3 separate regions of the Homo sapiens genome follow, and all the other regions are linked to region 3. Evidence: promoter capture Hi-C in 16 types of primary human blood cells and fetal thymus (Javierre and others, 2016). All regions are on one chromosome and are shown on one strand. Each heading gives the region's core, a stretch centred on a gene start or on the middle of the fragment in contact. The rest is flanking DNA. Distances are from core to core; before and after follow the strand shown. Region 1 has its middle 110 kb from the start of MIR12123. Region 2 overlaps STMN2 (stathmin 2). Region 3 holds the start of ZC2HC1A (zinc finger C2HC-type containing 1A).

The links. Contacts are between HindIII fragments. The CHiCAGO score rates a contact against its expected background, and 5 or more counts as called.
Region 1: a contact is called between a fragment that was not itself captured here and the fragment with the promoter of ZC2HC1A in region 3, in 1 of 17 cell types (monocytes). The highest score is 8.2, in monocytes.
Region 2: a fragment that was not itself captured here is called in contact with the fragment with the promoter of ZC2HC1A in region 3 in 1 of 17 cell types (naive B cells); the score reaches 5.7 in naive B cells.

Annotation. Positions count from the first base shown.
Region 1 is chr8:79,441,293-79,444,783 of GRCh38, forward strand. No RefSeq gene overlaps it. Among named protein-coding and RNA genes, the nearest start is that of MIR12123, 110 kb to the left of the region's middle. The HindIII fragment of the contact is 1,525 bases long and covers 1,095-2,619 here.
Region 2 is chr8:79,616,127-79,619,447 of GRCh38, forward strand. The region is part of intron 1 of STMN2 (stathmin 2); the gene reads left to right. Among named protein-coding and RNA genes, the nearest start is that of STMN2, 6.7 kb to the left of the region's middle. The HindIII fragment of the contact is 1,697 bases long and covers 863-2,559 here.
Region 3 is chr8:78,663,722-78,667,432 of GRCh38, forward strand. ZC2HC1A (zinc finger C2HC-type containing 1A) reads left to right here and starts at 2,368. Exons shown (of 9, transcript NM_016010.3): 1 at 2,368-2,443. The coding sequence starts at 2,428. It overlaps LOC105375911 (a long non-coding RNA gene), which reads right to left and starts at 2,258. Exons shown (of 4, transcript XR_007060972.1): 1 at 1,284-2,258. RefSeq lists enhancers at 1,491-1,999, 2,000-2,507, 2,472-2,521 and a silencer at 2,182-2,401. The HindIII fragment of the contact is 1,596 bases long and covers 1,783-3,378 here.

The sequences.
Region 1 (3,491 bases), core at 607-3,106, 780 kb after region 3:
CATGATGCTCCACTGTGCTGAATGCCTAGAATCTTCCATTTACCCCTCCAGAACTACTGTTCACTCTTCTCCACCCTACTGTCTACCCTGAGAAGTTTAACCTGCATAAATTCTATAAATAGGTATGAGCCTGTGGCCCACTTGCTTCCTGTTGAGTGCTGCTGATGGGAAACAGATCGGAGAGAAAGAAGAGGGGGGGATCAGGTCACTGATTTCCCTGCCGCCTTCCTTCCCAAGTGGTCTAGAGCTGGTGGTGGCCCTTAAAAAGGGGGGCATACCATTTCTTTCAAGGAGGTCTTCTCTACATGACTCTCTCCTTCCAGGTTCCAGTAACCACACCTTCACTCACCCTTTCAGTGCTAAGTGTGGAAGCAGAACCTATGCTTCTGGCCAGCCTCCCTGCTGTGGATCTCCTACTAGACCTTGCCTACTTTATCAATAGTCCCTTCATGTAGGAGGTTGAATAATGGCTACCCAATCATCTCTGGAACCCACAAATTTTATCTTATATAAAAAAATTATCTGTCAGATCTGATGAAGTTAAGGATCTGGAAATGGGAAGATTAACCTGGATTACCAGGGTGGGCCTAAAGGCAATCACAACTGTCCTTGTAACAAACAGAAGAAAAGACACAGACAGAAGAGGAGGAGGCAAGATGACCACGAAAGCAGAGACTGAAGTGATGCAGCCACAAGCCAAGGAATGCCAGAAGCCAGCCCAGAAATGGGCACAGACTGATTCTCCTCTAGAGTCTCCAGAGCACGACCCTGACAACACCATGATTTCTGTCCTATGATATTGGTTTTGGACTTCTGGTCCCCAGAATTAAGAATAATATTTTCTTGTTTTGAGCCACCACATCCGTGATAATTTATTACCTCAGTCAAAGGATCTAATATAGTTTGTTAATAAATTCTCCTCAAATTATCCTGATTATTCTGATGAGGCATTATCCTATTATTATTTGATGCAGGGTTTTTATCATAAGTGTTTGGAGAAGAGCAAAGTCCCTAAAATTACATAGAAAACTATGAGTATACCTCGGTAAATCTATTAAAAAGAAGCCTGCTAATTTTCATCAGACTCTCAGAAAAGCTTCTTCTAGCTTATTCTGTCCCAATAGGTTACAAGTTAAGTTGTTAAGCTGAATTTTGGCAGTTGCCAGCCCACATTTTATCACTGGAAAAGTGGTAGAGCCCTTGACCCCACCTGGTATTCTGGACAAGACACAGCCCGAGGGCCAGGCTGGAAGAAAAAGTTGCCTTTTTAATGACATTTAGCACCTTAGGTTTTATGCAAAGCTACTCGTTTGTTTCCAAATTTTTTATTATTCTGACTTTTCAGGATATTGTCCGGTATCAAGGAAAGAATCTTTTATGTTCTAGAAAATAGTTTGTTTAAATCTAAATCCATGACTTTCCTGAAAAATTTCAGCCAAACTTAGACCAGCTAAGCAGCCCAGATGGGGCAGCCCAGTTATGTATGGTCACACACCCACCAGTAGAACATTTGAGGCATGTGTAGCTCTTCTTTAAGGATTCACACATTCATCTATTTATTCTTGTAGTAGTTGAGAAAATTGAACCAAAGATGAATAACATATAGTCTTTGTTACAAAATTATCAGCTACGCAGTTTACTAAATTGACTTATCACAACAGTGTCCCGAAGTAGGCAGTAATGAACCTTGTGATGGGATCAAGGAGTGAGAGATTAACAAAGGGAGATACCAAGCAGCATCTCAAATATAGGTAAGAGTTTGCCAGGCTGCAGGGCACACCATACCAGAGACAGGAAAAATGGCCCCAAACTTGAAGCTGTCACCATTAAACTCGTTTTGATCAAGTCATAAACTGTGTTTTCGAACTGCAGTGGAAAATGCATGGATATACCACCATGTGTTTATCCACTTATATATTGTTTCCATTTTTGTCTAATACAAATAAAACTGTTGTGAATACGTGTGTACAAATGTTTGAATGGGTGCATGCATTTTTCTTGGGTAAATACATGGGGTGGAATGGTTGAGTGTATGCTTAACTTTTTAAAGAATTGCCAACTCATTTTCCAAAGTGGTTGCATCATTTTACATTTCTACCAACAGTGTATGAGTTCATCTTGTTCCACACCCTCCTCAACATAGTATTCACAGTCTTTTTCATTGTAGACTTTTTAATAGATAGGTACTGGTATCCCTTTTTAGTTTGCATTTCCCTAATGAGTAAAGATACTGAGCATGTTTCGTGTTTACAGTATACATACAAAATGTATTTGGCAAAATGACTGTTCAAATATTTGTCTTACTTGTTAATTGGGAGGTTTGTACTCTTATCAATGAGTTGTTAAGTGTTCTTTGCATATTCTAGATACATGTCTTTTTGGACATATGTTTTGAAAATATTTTCTCCCATTCTGTAGCTTGTCTTTTTATTTCTTAACTCTTTTGAAAACAAAATGTTTTTAATGTTGACAAAATCTAATTTGTGTACGTGTGTGTGTGTGTTCTGTATAGCTAAGTGGGGATGAAGAACCATCAATAACCACTTCCTCTGACTCAGGAGAGGAAGTGGTGAAACAGAAAGTGATAATGGATAATTGCATATAGCTATAGGGAAGAAAAGCTTAAAAAGCATAACTTATAGCCCAAATTTTCTCTATGTAATATGATATGCAACTATGCTGCTATATGAAATGGGAGTAGGATATGGGATAAAAATTACAAACATCTTAAAAAGAACTAACATTTAGTGAGAATTTACTATGTGCCAGTGACTATTCTAAATACTCTTCTTGGCTTAACTCATTTAATCCTAAAACTCTCCAACTCTTCAAATATTTAAGCTAACCCCAACCACTCACCATCACAAATTCATCATCCCTAAATATTTGGAACTTAGCACAAAATCTCATATCCTTTTTTACACTGTTTTACTTCCATTCTGTATCAGTTTACCCATAGAATTCTGGCATGGTAAGCTCTCCTGAGCTTAATTTCTGCCTCCTAACCGCTGCTGGGTTTCAGGGGTGGACTTCACCTCTCTGATATTAGAATTCCAGCTATTTCTTTTATGTATTTGTATAAGTTTAGAGGTACAAGTGCAATTTTGTTACATGAATATATTGCTTAGTGGTGAAGTCTGGGTTTTTAGTGTAGCCATCACCCAAATAGTGTACATTGTGTCCATTAAGTAATTTTTCATCACCCACCTTTCTTTCTGAGTTTCATCAACCTCTCACCTTTCTGATTCTCCACTCTCTACCATTCCATACCCTATGTTCATGCGTACACATTATTTAGCTCCCACTTCTAAGTGAGAACATGTGATATTTTACTTTCTGTTTCTGAGTTGTTTCACTTAAGATAATAGCCTCCAGCTTCATGCATGTTGCTGCAAAAGACATAATTTTCATTCTTTTTCATAGCTGAATGGTATTTCATGGTGTGTGTGTATATATGTATATGTATGAATGGTATTTCATGGTGTGTGTAT
Region 2 (3,321 bases), core at 461-2,960, 950 kb after region 3:
TACTGAGGAGGTGTACCAAAAACTGACTGCTGTTATTTTTCCCATCTTCTAAGTCTGTCTTTCTTTTCCATTTAAAGATACCTTTTTAAATCTAATCCAATGTGATTTCAATCTAGTTTTATCAGATTTCAACAATTATTGAGCATCTCCTTGTAGTGGTTTTCTGTTTATTAGAAAATCGATGTTAATTTTAACGAAGTAAGAAGAAATATATAAGTATAAACTAATTTTGGGTATCATCAAAAGTGGATTTTTTAAATATGCATTGATAGAATTATTTTTTGATTACATTTTATGTAATTCTAATCCAGCTATAAAATATTTAATAGTGTCATATTACTGTGTTCCTCAAACTTTGATGTGCATATGAATTACCTTTGATTTTCATTAAAATGCAAATTCTGATTCAATACATCTGGCTTGAGGCAGACATTCTGTCTTCCGAACAAGCTCCCAGATGATGCTGATTCTGACCACTAAACACATCAGTTTTAGGGATATTAACTTGTAATATACAGGTATCCCTCCTGGTAAGCTCTGGTATTATGTCTTAACATTTTTAAATCTATGGTAATCTTTACAAAATATTTTACTTCCGAACTCATATACCTGGGGATTTTATTACTCTGGGAATTATGTGTTCTGCCCCATCACTCTCTCTTAATTGGATTTTTAAAATTATATTCATATTGCAGGACTCGGCAGAAGACCTTCGAGAGAAAGGTAGAAAATAAGAATTTGGCTCTCTGTGTGAGCATGTGTGCGTGTGTGCGAGAGAGAGAGACAGACAGCCTGCCTAAGAAGAAATGAATGTGAATGCGGCTTGTGGCACAGTTGACAAGGATGATAAATCAATAATGCAAGCTTACTATCATTTATGAATAGCAATACTGAAGAAATTAAAACAAAAGATTGCTGTCTCAATATATCTTATATTTATTATTTACCAAATTATTCTAAGAGTATTTCTTCCTGAATACCATGTGAGAAAATTCTTAAGAATTTATTGAGTATGACTGTATATTTGAAAAGAGTGTTTTCTTCTGCTTATCTAAGCCAATAAAGGATCTTCATTATTCAATTCTAACTTTCTAAGGAAGTCAACCTACAGATCAGAAAGAGGATCTTCAAGGAATAGCATCAAAGACATAGTCAGGTCTCCCATGCAGTGACTGGCTGACCATGCAGCCATTACCACCTTTCTGGAAATATTATGCTGCAAAAATGATACAATACACGAAATATCTCAAATTAAAAAATATAACATTTCCCAAATAGGGCACTAAAAACATGATCCCAAATAAAACTAGCTTCAGGGTTTGCAGAATATACTGTTACTCAACACAAAGTTGGACTAAGTCTCAAAGTTAGCCATTCAGTTGTTGTTAACAGTTCATTTCAGGGTCTCTCAGAAGCTGGGAAACTTTCCATTTTTGCAATTTCTTGTACATTGAAGGAAAGGAAGACACACTTAAGACAGCATTACAAAAGTAATTCATGTTTTAAATGTTTAATTCTGGCAGTCGGGCAGGGCTCTCTGTATAACCTCATTTGGAGATGACAAAAATCTAAACTTGAGGGCCTCGAGCCAATAAGTCTTCCTATTTCTTTACTCAAACATTTTCCCGCAATGGTGCTTTCTTTCAACTGTTTTTCTGGTGTATTCATAAATTCCAGATTCTCTATGGGAAGTAACTTTTATTGATTGATTTAACCCTTGTATAGCACATATAACATGCAAGGCATTGTTCTAAGAACTTTCCACATATTAACTGTGTTAATCACTTAATAATCCTAAGTAGGTTCTATTACAGATATGGAAACTGAGGCACAGAAAGTTGAAGTATCTTACTCAAGGTCACACAGTTAGTCAGATCCAGAATTTGGGCCCAGGCCATCTGGCTTCGGAATCCATCTTTCACCGATTGCTGCTAGTCTCATATCTGTTCCATGTTAGAGGTGAGCTCCCATTGCAGAGGTCACACCTGTGATATCACCATTTTATTTAAACAGACCAGAGATGGTCTTCTCCTTTCTGATCACAGACTCACCTTGAAGAGAAAATACTTCCAAATTGATGCCTAGTTTTAATAGCTTACCTGGGGCTTATTCAAATAATTGCCATGATTTAGGCTTTGGGAGAAAGAGAGCTATGAGGCCGTGTGGGTTGTAACGTATGAGACACATGGCGTTCTGCAGGCTCAGCACAGCATCGATTTCTGGTGGGAACACACTCTGATGACCAGTTCCAGAAATAACATTGACTTAATCTCCTCAGTCCCATCATGGTTAGCACATTTCAAAATGCCTCCTTAACTACTTCCATAGGCCAGAGATATTTAGTTTTAACATTTTGTTGAATAAAATAAATTTACACATTCACATTTAATATAACTATTAGATGTTATTTCAAGATTCTCTTCATATTACCATCAAAGCAGGCAGGCAGGCAGGAGAGAACTGTAGGAAGGTTTTGAATCCCTTGTGAAACATTTTTAATTATCTTTTAATAAAGGAATCAGGCCCTGTCATTTGTCAAGGAGACATTTGCAGTAGTAAAGCTTGTGTTTATAATATCCATTTTTATTAGTCATGATTAAAGATAACATTTGTGTACATTTGTTCTCACAAAACACTTTTATATGAGTGTAAAGGTTAATTAATGCATTTCAGCCATCATTTTGCTGGTCATGTGGAAATATAGCTTCTTTAGGAATTGTACTTAGAGTAGGAGCCACATATTATACTATAAAACCATAACAAAAATATTTTAAGTTTGTTCTCACTTGTTGTTGACCTCCAGAGTAAAATATTTAATACTCTGGAAAGTTATGGGTTTCAAAATTTATTTTATGGCAAGAAATAGATAATTACAGTTCTCATAGAGCACATTTAAAATAATTTATTTTTATAGGGCAAAAATATTGCCTAGGACTGAATGATTTTTTTTTTTTTACAAAGATTGTAAAGCAACGCCTGCAAGAGTGCCCATTTAGCAGTTATTCTTCTGGAATAATTGTATTTTGGATGTTGGAGTTCGCACATTAACCATTAGTACAAGTACCCAATATAACAATAGATCATCAGGATAATAAATCTGTCCATCTTTTAGTTGTATGTCTTTATATCAGGATAAAGAGAATTGAGTGAAATTTATCTAAACCTAGTCCCACAAATACTTTTACAAGAGAGCATGTTAAAGTGTAAATTAAATTTTTATTAGCATTCTACTCTGTCTTTGGAAGTTTTTTTTCCTTATGAAATGCAGCCATAAAGTTTAACTTCCATTAACAAAGCTGCTCACAGTAAACCTATTATAAT
Region 3 (3,711 bases), core at 1,118-3,617:
GAATTCTTATTGATCTATAAATGTTATTTTCAGTTAACAAGATCACATGGCAGGTAGAAAAATTATGTACAGGTAAGTGCTTAAAAACATGAGAAGAAGCTGAGTTTCATTCATTTGAGTAACTGGCTAGTGATAAAATGGACTTGAAGCATAGAAGGTACTCAACAAACATTTGTTGAATGAATGCATGCCGAAAAATGGATTAGACTGGAGAGGAAGTAATGTCATGATACAGTGCCAAGACAAGACTCTCAGGCTAGGTATGTAGGCGGCAGAGGAAAGAACTTATTGAAGGCAGATAGGAAGAAGTCCTCTTTACTCAGGGGTCAGAATCAGGGAAAAGCTGCAGGAGCCAGGGTAGCTGTAGCGTAAAAGTTATGAAGAGACCAAAAGCATAAAAGTTATGAAGATACCTGTAGGGAAGACTAGCAATCATGTTTTAGAGAATTAAGATTCACAATAGAAATGCCTACTCAAATATATGTTAAACAACATGTCTGAACGCTTGGGTTTACACTTGAGGCAGCTATAATAAAAGGCAAGGCAAGGAAAGGGAGTGAGGAGCCCAATCAAATCACCATAGGCTTTAGAATTTAACAGACAAGAGTGTAGCCAAGCTCTACCATCCACTAATAATACAAATATTGACAAAATATTAATTGCTCTGAGACATCTAGAAAATGAACATTTTAATTCTGATAAATGAAGATTGTAGTATCTACTTTGTAGATTTCTTTTGAAGATTTGTGAATATATGAAAATGGCCTAAAACATGCCTCACATGATTTATTCTTTAATGCTATTTTTATTATTTTTAATGTTACTGTAGATTTTATGTCGAATAAGGTATCAGCCAACTCAATATTCGTCTTGCCTTCAGTGAAAGAACTTGTAATTTGTAAAATAATGGCTTCCTTATTTTTGTATTTTCTTCTGTGTGCTTTTTTTTCTCCTTAATGCTCTTTTAAAAGGCCTTCCCTCCCAACCAAAAATTCTACCTTTGCCTTAGTAGCACTAAGGAAGAAAAAGGACCTTTCCGCAGCACCCAGTCTAGAGTAGCTTATTGCCTGCAAGGCTATGGGTTGGCCAAGGAGGCCCAGGATCTCAGAGAAGCAGAAGAGCCAGGGGAACCAGGGAAGGGCGGAGGGAGTCATTGAGGCATGGTTGAAGTGGTCTTTACATGGCTCCACACAACAGATGGACTCTACCACATTCAAATGCACTTGGAGCACCTTCTCAGTAAGAGATGATGCCCCCTCAAGTGTTTGCTTGTTTAAACATACCTTCATGTGAGTGGAGAGTAGGAGGAATCCTGCTTCCTGAAGGTAACTGATTTCATAGTAGATGAAGTTAGATATGAAGTTAAACTCTTCAATTAAACAGATTAACAATAACATTAATCCGAGGTTTGTTATGGACAACACATTAATACTGGTAACTTGCCAGTAGATACGCTATAGTCAGCAAACAGTACAGCTTGTTTACGATTGCTAAATCAAATTTTCAAAGAAATGTAGTTCTGGTAATTGTAAGCAAAACCGTTAAAATGGTCTGAGTTAGTTTTGAAGTTACTTTCATCTTCAGGAGGTTTTGAACTCTGTTAGAGACGGGCGGGCCTCATTCTGTCAGGTTGTAGGTTAATTCCCCAACTCAAACTTCCCCGATCAAACATTGTCAGGCCAGGCGACTGTTTTGGTTTATGGATGATAAAGTATAGGGCCAAGGTAGGCCAAGAGTAGAAGACAGAGGGAGGGCTGGGTTTCACTTCTAATTTTTGGCCCAAGCTTTCATGGTGAGGAAACTGTTTTCAAGGGCTTAGAGCAATCGCAGTTCCACAATCGCAGATAGAAAGTATGATTTCTCTGGAAAAAAAGTGTCTTAACCTATGAAGCTGTGTGTGAAGATCAAGTGTAGGGGATACGCTGAGGTCAAGTCATGCGACCAAAGACCGGAAAACGGAGATTGCTGCATGCAAGCGTGCTGGGCGTTTGTTTGGTTTGCTTGCCTGCTTAAAGTATCCACTGGGAGGGATGGCGGCTAGAAGTCAGAGGCATTGACTGATTGAGGAACTGGTGAAGCGGAGCCCATGAGGTGCTGAGGTACTCTAAATAGGAGGATAAGGTATGAGGCAAAACAAGGCTGGAGTCAAACAAAGGCGCCGTTGCATCGCAGATTGCAACCTGAAGCGGCTCCCGGCTCCCTGGAGAGTAACCCGGAGAGACGGACAGGGGTGGCAGCCAGGAGGAGACCGCAGGAACCTCGCCTCCGCCGCGGCCCCGCCCCCACGGATCCCCGCCCCCGCAGTTGCGGAACCAATGGGAGCTCGGAATGTTAGCGGGTGGGAGGTGCGGCTGGGTTGCTACAGCCAGAGCTGGGCGGTGGCGGGCGCTGCTGAAGGAGTCTCGCTGAGCTCGAGGAGGTGGCGCGATGGAGGGACTGGAAGGTGAGGCGATGAAGGGATGAGGGCAGGACGGCTAGAGCGGGCCCGAAACAGCTGGGGACCCTGGACACCAGTAGCAGGAAGGCGAGGGCTGGTTCGGTGCGGCGGACCTCGCCGCGTCCCGCCGCGCCTCCGGAGGCTGGGGCCGAAGGGAACCGGACAGTCCCCGATGCGGTGGAGCTAACGCTACCAGGCTGCCCCGCCTCAGACGGTCTTCAACTGGGCTTTCCCGCCCGGAGCCAGATCCTGCCCCTGGCAAGACGCCTGCACGTCTCTTCCTACCATTTTCTGATCTTGCTTGACTCCTGAGTGCCCTTTTAGTGATCCCAGTCTCTGGCCAGATTTTGTTTTCCTTGTACTGGACTCTCTCCATTATTGTCCACGGCCTTAACACCAACAGGCCACTTTGTGCTGCAGCCCCGGGGTGTGTCTCCAGCCTCGAGCTCCTGACATTCCTTGGCCGATTTCCCTAGGTAACCGGCTTTTTACATTTCGACAGCATCTTCTGTCGGAGGGATGTCAGAGCATCTCCTAAGGAAGTGTCACTGGCCAGCTTTAGAGCCGGTACAATAGATTACCCGGAGGATTTGATGACTTATTCACGGCCGCTGTGTGAGGAAGAGCCTGTATTGGTTCCTTATCTTTGGGTTTATCTTTGTACTGTAACCATGACTCCAGATTTTGCTTTGTTCCCAGTTCTTTCACTTTTTCTCTATTCTGTTTACCCATTTTATCCTGTGTAATGAAAGCATTCACCTAAAAACAAAGGAAGGACAAAAACCACAATAACTAGCATTGGCAACAACAGTTTCAAGATTTTTTAATTTGTTATGATGAAGAACAAACCTTCAGAATTGAAAGATCCTATTGTCTTGATTTAGCTCCTTTCCCCCGTCTCCTAGTTTACACGGATTCAGTTGGAATTAAGAATGAGCAGAAGCTTTTGAGTCTTGTGTATTGTTGCATGCCAGGGAGTAAAATATTCTACATTGTGTGATGAAGTGCAAAGTGGTAGCCGGTAACTTTTTCAGTCACCTATTCACCAAAAAGCAGATGTAATAACATGAGTAGAAGTTTATTTCGTGCTTTTGCTCTGATAAATGATTCTGATAATTTTCCGTTTGTGGACAGCTGCAGTATGCTATGGCCTAATGAAGGTCTTGTTTTTTGCTTATGTGTTTTTGGAAGATAATTCAAGTTTCCATGAAATAAGGAATTGTAATGATAGTACAGTATATTTTACTTTCAAGATACTTTTGTATCTTGGTGGG